Linked DNA regions of Homo sapiens: all the other regions are linked to region 1. The links are contacts of gene promoters, found by promoter capture Hi-C in human tissues and cell types (Jung and others, 2019). All regions are on one chromosome and are shown on one strand. The core of a region is centred on a gene start or on the middle of the fragment in contact, and the rest is flanking DNA. Distances in the headings are between cores, read along the strand shown. Region 1 holds the start of ZNF560 (zinc finger protein 560). Region 2 has its middle 15 kb from the start of ZNF426-DT. Region 3 overlaps LOC105372269 (a long non-coding RNA gene).

What was found. Contacts are between HindIII fragments. The study calls those that stand out against the background at their distance.
Region 2: a contact is called between a fragment that was not itself captured here and the fragment with the promoter of ZNF560 in region 1, in 2 of the 25 tissues and cell types used here (ovary and small bowel).
Region 3: a fragment that was not itself captured here is called in contact with the fragment with the promoter of ZNF560 in region 1 in 2 of the 25 tissues and cell types used here (adrenal gland and pancreas).

The regions. Positions count from the first base shown.
Region 1 is chr19:9,497,077-9,500,379 of GRCh38, reverse strand. It overlaps ZNF560 (zinc finger protein 560), which reads left to right and starts at 1,764. Exons shown (of 10, transcript NM_152476.3): 1 at 1,764-1,842; 2 at 2,165-2,252. The HindIII fragment of the contact is 15,358 bases long and covers 1-3,303 here.
Region 2 is chr19:9,552,249-9,555,551 of GRCh38, reverse strand. No RefSeq gene overlaps it. Among named protein-coding and RNA genes, the nearest start is that of ZNF426-DT, 15 kb to the right of the region's middle. The HindIII fragment of the contact is 5,877 bases long and covers 1-3,303 here.
Region 3 is chr19:9,455,863-9,459,165 of GRCh38, reverse strand. LOC105372269 (a long non-coding RNA gene) reads right to left here. Exons shown (of 3, transcript XR_007067133.1): 2 at 1-3,303. It also overlaps a transcript of ZNF560 not described here. Among named protein-coding and RNA genes, the nearest start is that of ZNF266, 22 kb to the right of the region's middle. The HindIII fragment of the contact is 4,913 bases long and covers 1-3,303 here.

The sequences.
Region 1 (3,303 bases), core at 515-3,014:
TCTTGTCACCCAGGCTGGAGTGCAATGGAGCCATCTCCACTCACTGCAAACTCCGTAACCTCCGCCTCCCAGGTTCAAGTGATTCTCCTGCCTCAGCCTCCCGAGTAGCTGGGATTACAGGTGCCAACCACCACGCCTGGCTAATTTTTTGTATCTTTAGTAGAGACGGGGTTTCACCATGTTGGTCAGGCTGGTCTTGAACTCCTGACCTCAGGTGATCCACCCACCTCGGCCTCCCAAAATGTTGGGATTACAGGAGTGAGCCACCGTGCCCAGCCTCTACAGGAAATTCTAGCCAGAGCAATTACACAAGAAAATAAAATAAAAGGTTTCTCAATTAGAATAGAACAAATAAAAATATATTTATAGGTGATATTTGATATATAGAGAATTTTGAAGAATCTACAAGAAAACTAGCAGAGCTTGTAATAAATTCCGTAAAGTTGCACAGTACAACATCAAGAGATGAAAATTAGTTTTGTATCTATACACCAGCAATGAACAATCAGAAAAGGAAACTGAGAATGTGATCCCTTTTACAAATAAGTTACATGGGAATAACTTTACCCCAAGAGGTAAAATATTTGTAAACTGAAAATTTCAAAACATTACTGAAAGAGTTTAAAGAAGACCTAAATAGAGAGATATTGTATATTCACACATAGGAAGACTCAGTATTATAAAGATACCAATATAACCCGAAGATTCAACTAAATCTCTACCACAAGTCCAACAGTCCTTTCTTTTTCTGCACAGAATAAGTGAAGAATGCCTGGTATCAGTGTTATTTCATAAAGTAGTACAGGAGGCTTTGAATCATTTGATAAGATTTGAGAAATAGTAACAAATACATTGTTGAAGAAGAAAAAAAAATACAATAAGGCCAGGCATGGTGCATGATGGCTCACGCCTGTAATCCCACTTCGGGAGTGCAGGGCGGGCAGATCACTTGAGCCCAGGAGTTCCAGACCAGCCTGGGCAACATGGTTAGATCCTGTCTCTACAAAATAATAATAATGATGATAATAATAATAATACAAAAATTAGCCGGGTGCGGTGCGCCCGTGGTCCCAGCTACTCGGGAGGCTGAGGTGGAAGGATGGCTTGAGCCTGGAGAGGTGGAGACTGCAGTGAGCCGTGTTCCTACCACTGCATTCCAGCCTTGGCAACCGAGCCAGACCCTACCTCGAAGAAAAAAAGAAAAGAAAAGAAAAAAGAAAGAAAAGAAAAAAATTGCAATATTTACAGAAAGTATCGATAACTGAAAACGCAGAGGAATCAATGATTAGAGTTTAGCAAGGTCAGATAAATAAAAAGAAATAAGAGAAAATAAAGTTCTAAAGACGTGATCGAATGCAGGAAGCAGGCCATTTTGTGGATTGGCAGGTTATCAACTGGAGAGAATCCTGAAAGGGGTCCAGGAACGTGGGGAAAGTTTCTAATGAGCATCCTGAGGGGCGAGTCCATCGCCCGACGTTTCGCCTTCCTGGTCCATTCTGCCACCGAAGCCACCGGCTGGGTCTGGTCCCACCTCCAGCCCCGCCCCCGGGCATGGGCCCCGCCCACAGCCCTGATTTAACCCCCACCTTTCTCTGTGGGTCCATTTCTCTCTTGCCCACCCAGGCACTGAGCCGACCCCTTGATACCTCCGCACCCACGCGGAGGGAAACTAGAATCCTGAAGAGTTCCATCCTGTCCAACTGCCCACACAACGAGCCACGCCCCTTCCAATGCCCCAAACGGAAGTGACGTTGCGGCGCGCCAGTTCTCTCTTTTGGTCGCTGGCGCCTGTTTCCTCAGAGCCACTTTTTCCTTTGTGTTGTCTGGTCGTTCACTACTTTGGTGAGGCTCGTGTGGACTAGTGGGTTGGGCGGTGTTTCGGGGGGTGGCAGAGGTCACAATCGACCCAGGGTAATCGAGGAACCTCCTTACAGAGGCCTGGACCACTCCACAGGAGTCCGCAGGAGTCGCGGAGCCATCGGGTGAGGCCACGTCGAAGAGGCCATTGGGACCTTCGGTCCCCTAGAGGAGCCGGGTGGGAAGTGCAGTATGGGCGCGTCCGAGGGCTGTTTTCAGCCGTGTGTTCCCGTCTTCAAAAGTGTCCAAGCGTTCTGAGGCCTTAAAAAATAAGTCTCCAAGGCAACGTTTGTGAATTGTGTTTCAGAGGGAAAAGAATTTTGCCGTTCGCGTTCGATTGACTCCGTCCCCAAGATCCTGTAGCCCCACGGACCTGGCGACTCCACCGTGTTCGGGTGAGCATTGGGAAAAAGTTGGTTTAAGGGGGCAGCTGCTTCCTTTTTTATGCAAACGAGTGTTTCATGTGAGATTTTGGCATTTTGCCTTTGTGAAACCTGTATATTTTTTATTGACACATTACGTTCCGGTAGAAAGGTGCTTTCTTAGTTGTCTAGGGTGTGCGTATTTCTGCATGTGCATATAAACGTTTGTAGACCGCGAGTCTTTCTACTAAAGAAACCTAAGAATACTCAGCCATTCTTTTCATCTGAAGTTCCTAGCTCTGTACGTCTCCAAAGAGCTTCATAACCAGGCTTCCTGGAAGAAAGGATGGAGGGTTTACACACTAATACTAGAATAATCGAATTTACCATTAACAGGATGACTGTACTAAGTGTATTTTTCCCGCATTTTTTTTCGAAAAAACTTAAACCTATGGGTATGTTGACCATCCAGTACCACGAATAAATATCCATTGTAGCTGCACCTGTTTTTTAGCGTTTTGTGTATTCGCCGTCTCGTAAATAAATTTTATGGTGAACAGTTTGAGAGTCAATGGGAAATTCATTGCAGAGATGAAGCTCGACATTTTTTTTTTTTTTTTTTTTTTGAGAGGGGGTCTAGCTGTGTCGCCCAGGCTGGAGTGCAGTGGCGCGATCTCGCCTCACTGCAACCTCTGCCTCCCGGGTTCAAGCGATTCTCCTGCCTCAGCTTCCCAAGTGGCTGTAATTACAGGGGTGTGCCACCGTGCCCGGATAATTTTTTGTATTTTTGTAGAGATGGGGTTTCACCGTGATAGCCAGGATGGTAAGCTCGACATTTAAGTAGTGGGTAATGCCTGACTCAATGATAAGAGTGTTGTTTTACTAAAACCGTAATACTATTTGCATCAAGAAAATTAAAAATAATAATGTTATCTAATATTTACTATGTATAATAAATGAAAATTCTCCAAATTCTTCTAAAATATAACGGAATGTTTTTGGATCTGAGCTCTATTCAAGATTTTTTTTTTTTGAGAGTTTTTTTGAGGCAGGATGTTGCCTTGTTGCCCAGGCTGGAGTGCGG
Region 2 (3,303 bases), core at 299-2,798, 55 kb before region 1:
AGGCTCAACTTTACTTGCATCTCAGTGTATGTCATTTGCAGGTCATACATCATTGCCTTCTTTTTTTCACATTGAGAAGGTCTGGGATGATGACTGTCTCCAACTTTTTTGTCTGCTCCTGTAAGTTTTTTCTTTGGTTCTAAATCGGCTATTATGGCCTGACACTGAAATATTTATCATGAAGGCCTAGAAAAGCAATGTATTTGCTCTGTATAACTTGATTCTGTACTCTCGGCTTTTCTTGATGTACCTAAATTTTTACACTCATAGCCTTGGACATATTCCTAACTAAATCCAAGCACACTTTTCATCACGTTCAACTTCCAGGTTATTTTTATTTTTATTTTATTTTTTGAGATGGATTCTTGCTCTGTCACCCAGGCTGGAGTTCAGTGGCGCAATCTCAGCTCTCTGCAACCTCTGTCTCCTGGGTTCAAGTGATTCTCTGCCTCAGCCTCCTTGGTAGCTGGGTCTACAGGTGTGTGCCACCACCCCTGGCTAATTTTTGTGTTTTTTAGTAGAGAAAGAGTTTCACCATGTTGGCCAGGCTGGTCTCGAACTCCTGACCCAAGTGATCCACCCGCCTCGGCTTCCCAAGTGCTGGGATTACAGGTGTGAGCCACCATGCCTGGCCAACTTCCAGGTTATCTAAATGCACTTTGCATAAGGAGAAATAATCACACTGTAGAAGGTTTTTCTTTACCTTTTTGGTAGCTGGTCTAAGAAAGGTTTTACAAGAAATTATCGAGATAATTTCCTGTATTGCCTTTATTAAGTTTTTTATCACTTAAAAAAAAAAACCTGGTTGGTTGGGCATGGTGTTTCATGCCTGAATCCCAGCACTTTGAGAGGCTGAGGTGGGAGGATCACTTGAGTTCAGGAGTTCGATACCAGCCTGGGCAACATGATGAAAGCCCATCTCTTAAAAAAAAAAAAAAAAAAAAAGACACACATACAAAAATTAGCTGGGTGTGGTAACGTGTGCCTGTAGTCTCAACTACTGGGGAGGCTGAGGTGGGAAGATCACTTAGGCCTGGGAGATCAATGCTGCAGTGAACTTTTGTGCTGCTGCACTCCAGCCTGGGCCACTGAGTGAGACGCTGTCCCCCATCTACCCCTGAAATAAATAAAAAGAATCAACAAAAAACTCTGGGCTTTAAAAGGATTCATTTTTTCCTAGTAACTCTATTTACTCCTACTAATGACTTTTGATTATCACTGTATTTACATGGATTACTAACAAGTGAGCTGTTATCCTGTTTCAATCAAATGTTTTGAGCCTTCTAACATCTTTGACAAACTTCCCCAAATGCAAATTCTTTTTATTTTATTTTATTTATTTTTTTTGAGACAGAGACTCGCTCTGTCTCCCAGGCTGGAGTGCAATGGCATAATCTTGGCTCATTGCAACTTCTACTTCCTGAGTTCAAGTGATTCTCCTGCCTCAGCCTCCCGAGTAGCTGGGATTACAGGTGTGCGCTAAGATGCCTGGCTAATTTTTGTATTATTAGTAGAGGTGGGGTTTCACCATGTTGGCCAGTTTGGTCTCGAACTCCCGACCTCAGTTGATCCTCCTGCCTCAGCCTCCCAAAGTGCTGAGATTACAGGTATGAGCCACCACGCCTGGGCTTCTTTTTTATTTTTTTGAGACGGAGTCATGCGCTGTTGCTGAGGCTGGAGTGCAATGTCATGATCTCAGCTCACAGCAACCTCCACCTCCCAGGTTCAAGCAATTCTCCTACCTCAGCCTCCTGAGTAGCTGGGATTACAGGCACCCACCACCATGCCCAGCTAATTTTTGTATTTTTTGTAGAGATGGGATTTAATCATGTTGGTCAGGCTGGTCTCGAACTCCTGACCTCAGTTGATCTACCTGCTTCAGCCTCCCAAAGTGCTGGGATTACAGGCATGAGCCACCACGCCTGGCCTGTTTTTATGACTTTTATTCAAAAGATTGTTCTTTACGCAAATGTTTTGTTTTTTTCAGAATTAAGAAACTGTTCTATCTTAACTTACCTCTAATATACCTCTGTTTGATAAAGTATATTTTTTGAGCCAGGCTCTCACTCCATCACCCAGGCTGGAGTGCAGTCATGCTGCTGTAGGACAAGCAAGCTTCAAATTGGGACTTAGCCAATGAGGGTTTTTGGCCTTGGCCAGGAAATAATTCAGGGTGAGCTGGTGGTAGAAGAAAGAAGCTTTATCGAAGAAGCAGTGTTTCAGCTCTGGTGGTGGTACAGCTTTGTGACTACTCCTATGGGAAACCTCATAGGCAGTGTGCTGAGAGTAGCAGCTCAGGGCAGTTTTGCGGTCATATTTATACCTACTTTTAATTACATGTAGATTAAGGGGCAGTTTATGCAGAAATTTGTAGGAAAATGGTGGTAACTTTGGTCATCGGGTCATTGCCATGGAAAGGGGTGGAAACTCCTGGGTGTTGCCATGGCAATGTTAAACTGACATGGCTCACTGGTAGGCGTGTCTTATGGAAAGCTGCTTCTGCCCCATCCCTGTTTTAGCTAGTCCTCAATTTTGTCCAGGTCTGAGCCCCACCTCTGGAGTCAAATTATTCCTCCTACCTCAGTGTGATCACTGCTCACTGCAGCTTCAGCCTGCTGGGCTCAGGCAGTCCTCCTACCTCAGCCTCCTGAGTAGCTAGAACTATAGACATGCACCACTGTGCCTGGCTAATGTTTAATGCCTGCCCCAGCTGCCTGGCTTCTCCCTGCTGTCCACGCCCCCTCCTATCTTGGAGCAAAGTCAGGCCAAGCCGGGTCACCATGAACAGCAGGATAGACATGAGAGAGTCCCAGGGGGAAAGGGGTAGGTCCCTGGTAAGGTTCCTCCTTCTGGCCAGGGACGGCCTGAAGGCTGGTGGCTGGGCTGCCAGTCCCATGAACTGGAATGGTAATTGGTGCCTTTTCCAGGCCCGCCCATGGCCACCCATGGGCCAATTGGCATGCACTTCCTGCCCTCTGAGGCTCACTAAATGTCCCTGGCTCAGCCAGAGCTGAGCAGACAGTGCCACTAGCAGAAGAGAGGAGCTAGTGTCTCTGCTGAGACCCTCAGAGACCTGCAGAGACCACCGAACAACTTGCCTGAGGAGAGGAGCTACCCTCCCAAGGGCCTCCTCTCTGCTGAGAGCTGGACACTCGACAAATGACCTGCCTGCCCACAGAGGGGAGCTACTCACTGTGGGTCTCCTCTGAGCTGTTGTTTTTTTTTTTCTTTTCTGGAGACAGAATTTCGCTCTTGTTGCCCAGGCTGGAGTGCAATGGCACAATCTCAGCTCACCGCAACCTC
Region 3 (3,303 bases), core at 590-3,089, 41 kb after region 1:
GATTCATTCTTTCCACTATAGCTTGTCCTTGAGAATTATATGGGATACCAGTAATGTCTTCAATATTCCATATAGAGAAAAATGTAGCTAGAGCTTGGCTAGTATAGCTTGGGGCATTATCTGTTTTAATAGAAGCTGGAATGCCCATCACCACAAAACACTGCAAAAGGTGATGTTTAACACAGGCAGAAGACTCTCCTGATTGGCATGTAGCCCAGACAAAGTGAGAAAAGGTGTCTACACATACATGTACATAAGCTAGTCTCCCAAACGAGGGAACATGTGTGACATCCATTTGCCAAAGAGAATTAGGTTCCAATCCTCAAGGAATCATTTGGCAAGTTGGGCATCGCTGGTTAATAGCTTTAGCTTCTTTCCAGGTAATGCTGTATCTGTGTCTGAGACCAGAGACATTAACGTGTGTTAAATTGTGGAATTGTCTAGCATTAGATATTGCAGTAGCAACTAGGTGATCAGCCATTTGATTCCCTACAGTCAAAGGTCCTGGAAGAGGTGTATGAGCCCTAATGTGAGTGATGTAAAAAGGGTGCATTCTACTCCTAACTGCTGTTTGCAATTGGGTAAATAAAGTCATCAGTTGCTCTTATGTGTGGAATTGTAGCTGAGCATTTTCAACTAACTGTGTAGAACCACATATGAAGAATCAGAAATCATATTAATAGGCATATTAAAAGCAGTCAATGCCTCAATTACAGCCTCAAGCTCCGCTTTTTGAGCTGAAGTATAGGGCGTCTGAAAAACTTTACCTTTCAATCCAGAATAAGAGGCTTTACCATTACTAGACCCATCTGCGAAGACATTCTCAGTACCTTCAATTGGTTTGATTTAGTCATTTTAGGGAGAATCCAATTAGTTAATTTCAAAAAATTGAAACAGTTTCATGTTAGGAAAATGGTTATTGAGAATACCCACAAAGTCAGCTAAATGGGTTTAACAAGTAAGACTATTTATAAAAGCTTGCTGTATTTGTGTCTTTGTGAGAGGGATAATAATTTTTCCAGGATCATATCCGTGTAATTTAACAATCCGAGTTCTCCCATTTCCTATCATAGTAGCAATTCGATCCAAATAAGGAGTCAAAGTCCGTGAATTAGTATATGGAAGGAAAAGCTACGCCACAAGATCTCGCTCTTGAACAATAACACCAGTAGGTGAATGCTGAGTTGGAAAAATGAGCAAATCTAGAGTATTCTCTAGATCTATTCTATTTATTTGGGCCTTATGGACTTGCTTTTCAATTAGCTGCAGCTCTGCCTCAGCTTCTTTTGTTAATTGCCAAGGGCTTGTGACACTAGGATCTCCTCTAAAGATAGAAAACAGAGTACTCATGGCATAAGTCAGAATGCCTAGAGCAGGCGGTATCCAATTAATATACCCTAGTAAATTTTGAAAGTCTGATTCAATGTTTTCTATTGATCCTACATATGGCTACTTTCTGTGGCATTATTGTGGTGACATTTACTAAGGCCCCCAAGTAGACGTAAGGAGTAGTAGTCTGAATTGCGTCAGGAGCTATAATTAAACTGGCATGAGAAATTGAATTCTCCAAGTGACCGTAACATTGGAGTAATATTTCCGGAGTGGGGGAAGCACAAAGAATATCATCCATATGATGAATAATGTAACACTGTGAAAATCTTTTATGAGTAGGTTCAATTGCTTGCCCTACATAAGTCTGGCAAATTGTTGGACTGTTTAACATGCCTTGTGCAACACTTTCCAATTAAAACGCTTAGCAGCCTGCAAGTTGTTTACCACAGGAATCGTAATTGCAAACTGTTCACAGTCCTGCTGAGCTAAGGGGATAGTAAAGAAACAAGTCTTTTAAATCTATGGCTATTAAAGGCCAATTTTTTGGAATCATAGCAGGAGAAGGCAGTCCTGGCTGTAATGCCCCAATAGGTTATATAGCTGAATTAATAGCCCTTAAGTCAGTTAACATTCTCCATTTACCTGGTTTTGTCTTAATTACGAAAACTGGGGAATTCCAAGGGGAGAGAGTTTGAGCTATATGTTCCTTTTGAAGCTGTTCTTTGACTAGTTCATTTAAAGCCTCCAGTTTCTCTTTACTCAGCGGCCACTGTTCTATCCATATTGGCCTGTCTGTCAGCCATTTTAACAGGATAGGCTCTGCAGGCTTACCATCAAAAATGGTATCCTAAGTCTTGGCGGGAACTTTGTCTTTCCGCTTGAAGAGATTCCTTCAAACCTTGCAAATTTTTTCCTAGTTCCATACCATGGACATACCCCATTTCATGCATCATATGTTGACTTTGAGGGCTGTATAATTGCTCAGGAATTAGAACTTGTGCTCCCCATTGTTGTAATAAATGTATGGGGGGAGAGCCCCCATAAATTTATAGGTATAGAAGTTATAATTGGTTGAATAGTCCCAGGTTGTCCATCGGGCCCTTTACAATGCAAAGTATAACTACTTTGATATACTTCAGGGGCTTTATCAACTCCAACTATGTTAAATTGAGCAGGCTGAATTGGCCATGCAGACGGCCAGTGATGTAGAGATATGATTGAAATGTCCACTCCTGTATCTACCAAACCTTTAAATTTCTTTCGCTGAATAGTTTTTTCACAGGTAGGATGGTTATCAGTAATTTGATTTACCCAGTAGGTGGCTCTCCCTTGTTTATTTGTACTGCCAAATCCCCTTGTTCTTTTAGTTTCACTTTTTCCTAGTCCCACATACGGTAAAATCAGAAGCTGCCCTATACGCTCTCCCGGTTCTGCCTTTTAAGGAACAGAGGTAGATATAACGATTTGAATTTCCCCGTTACAATCCAAATCAATTACTCCTGTATGAACCTGCACTCCTTTTAAATTTAAACTAGATCTTCCCAGAAGTAGTCCTACCATTCCTGCTGGCAGAGGTCCGCAGACTCCTGTTGGTACCTTCTGCAGTGGCTTTCCAGGCAGGAGACTCACAGCCCTGGTGCAACACAGATCTACTGAGGCACTACCAGCTGTGGCGGGGGACAAGCATTATACAGGGGTGAGGGAGTGGTCTGAGCCAGGAATGCCCTGGTTTGGAATGTGGCTCAGGATTGGCCCCTCATGGCGTTTCTCGAAATCGGGTTTCCGTCTTTATCAAATTTAGAATGACACTGATTGGCCCAGTGCTTTCCTTTTTTACACTTCAGGTATAGACCTGGTTCAGCAGTTTTCTTTTTTCCATCAATGGGTAGTTGGACCCTCTGATTTTTTCTACATTCTCTCTCGTATGCCCATGTTTCCTGCAGTTGAAACAAGCTTCAGGAAATGGAGCAT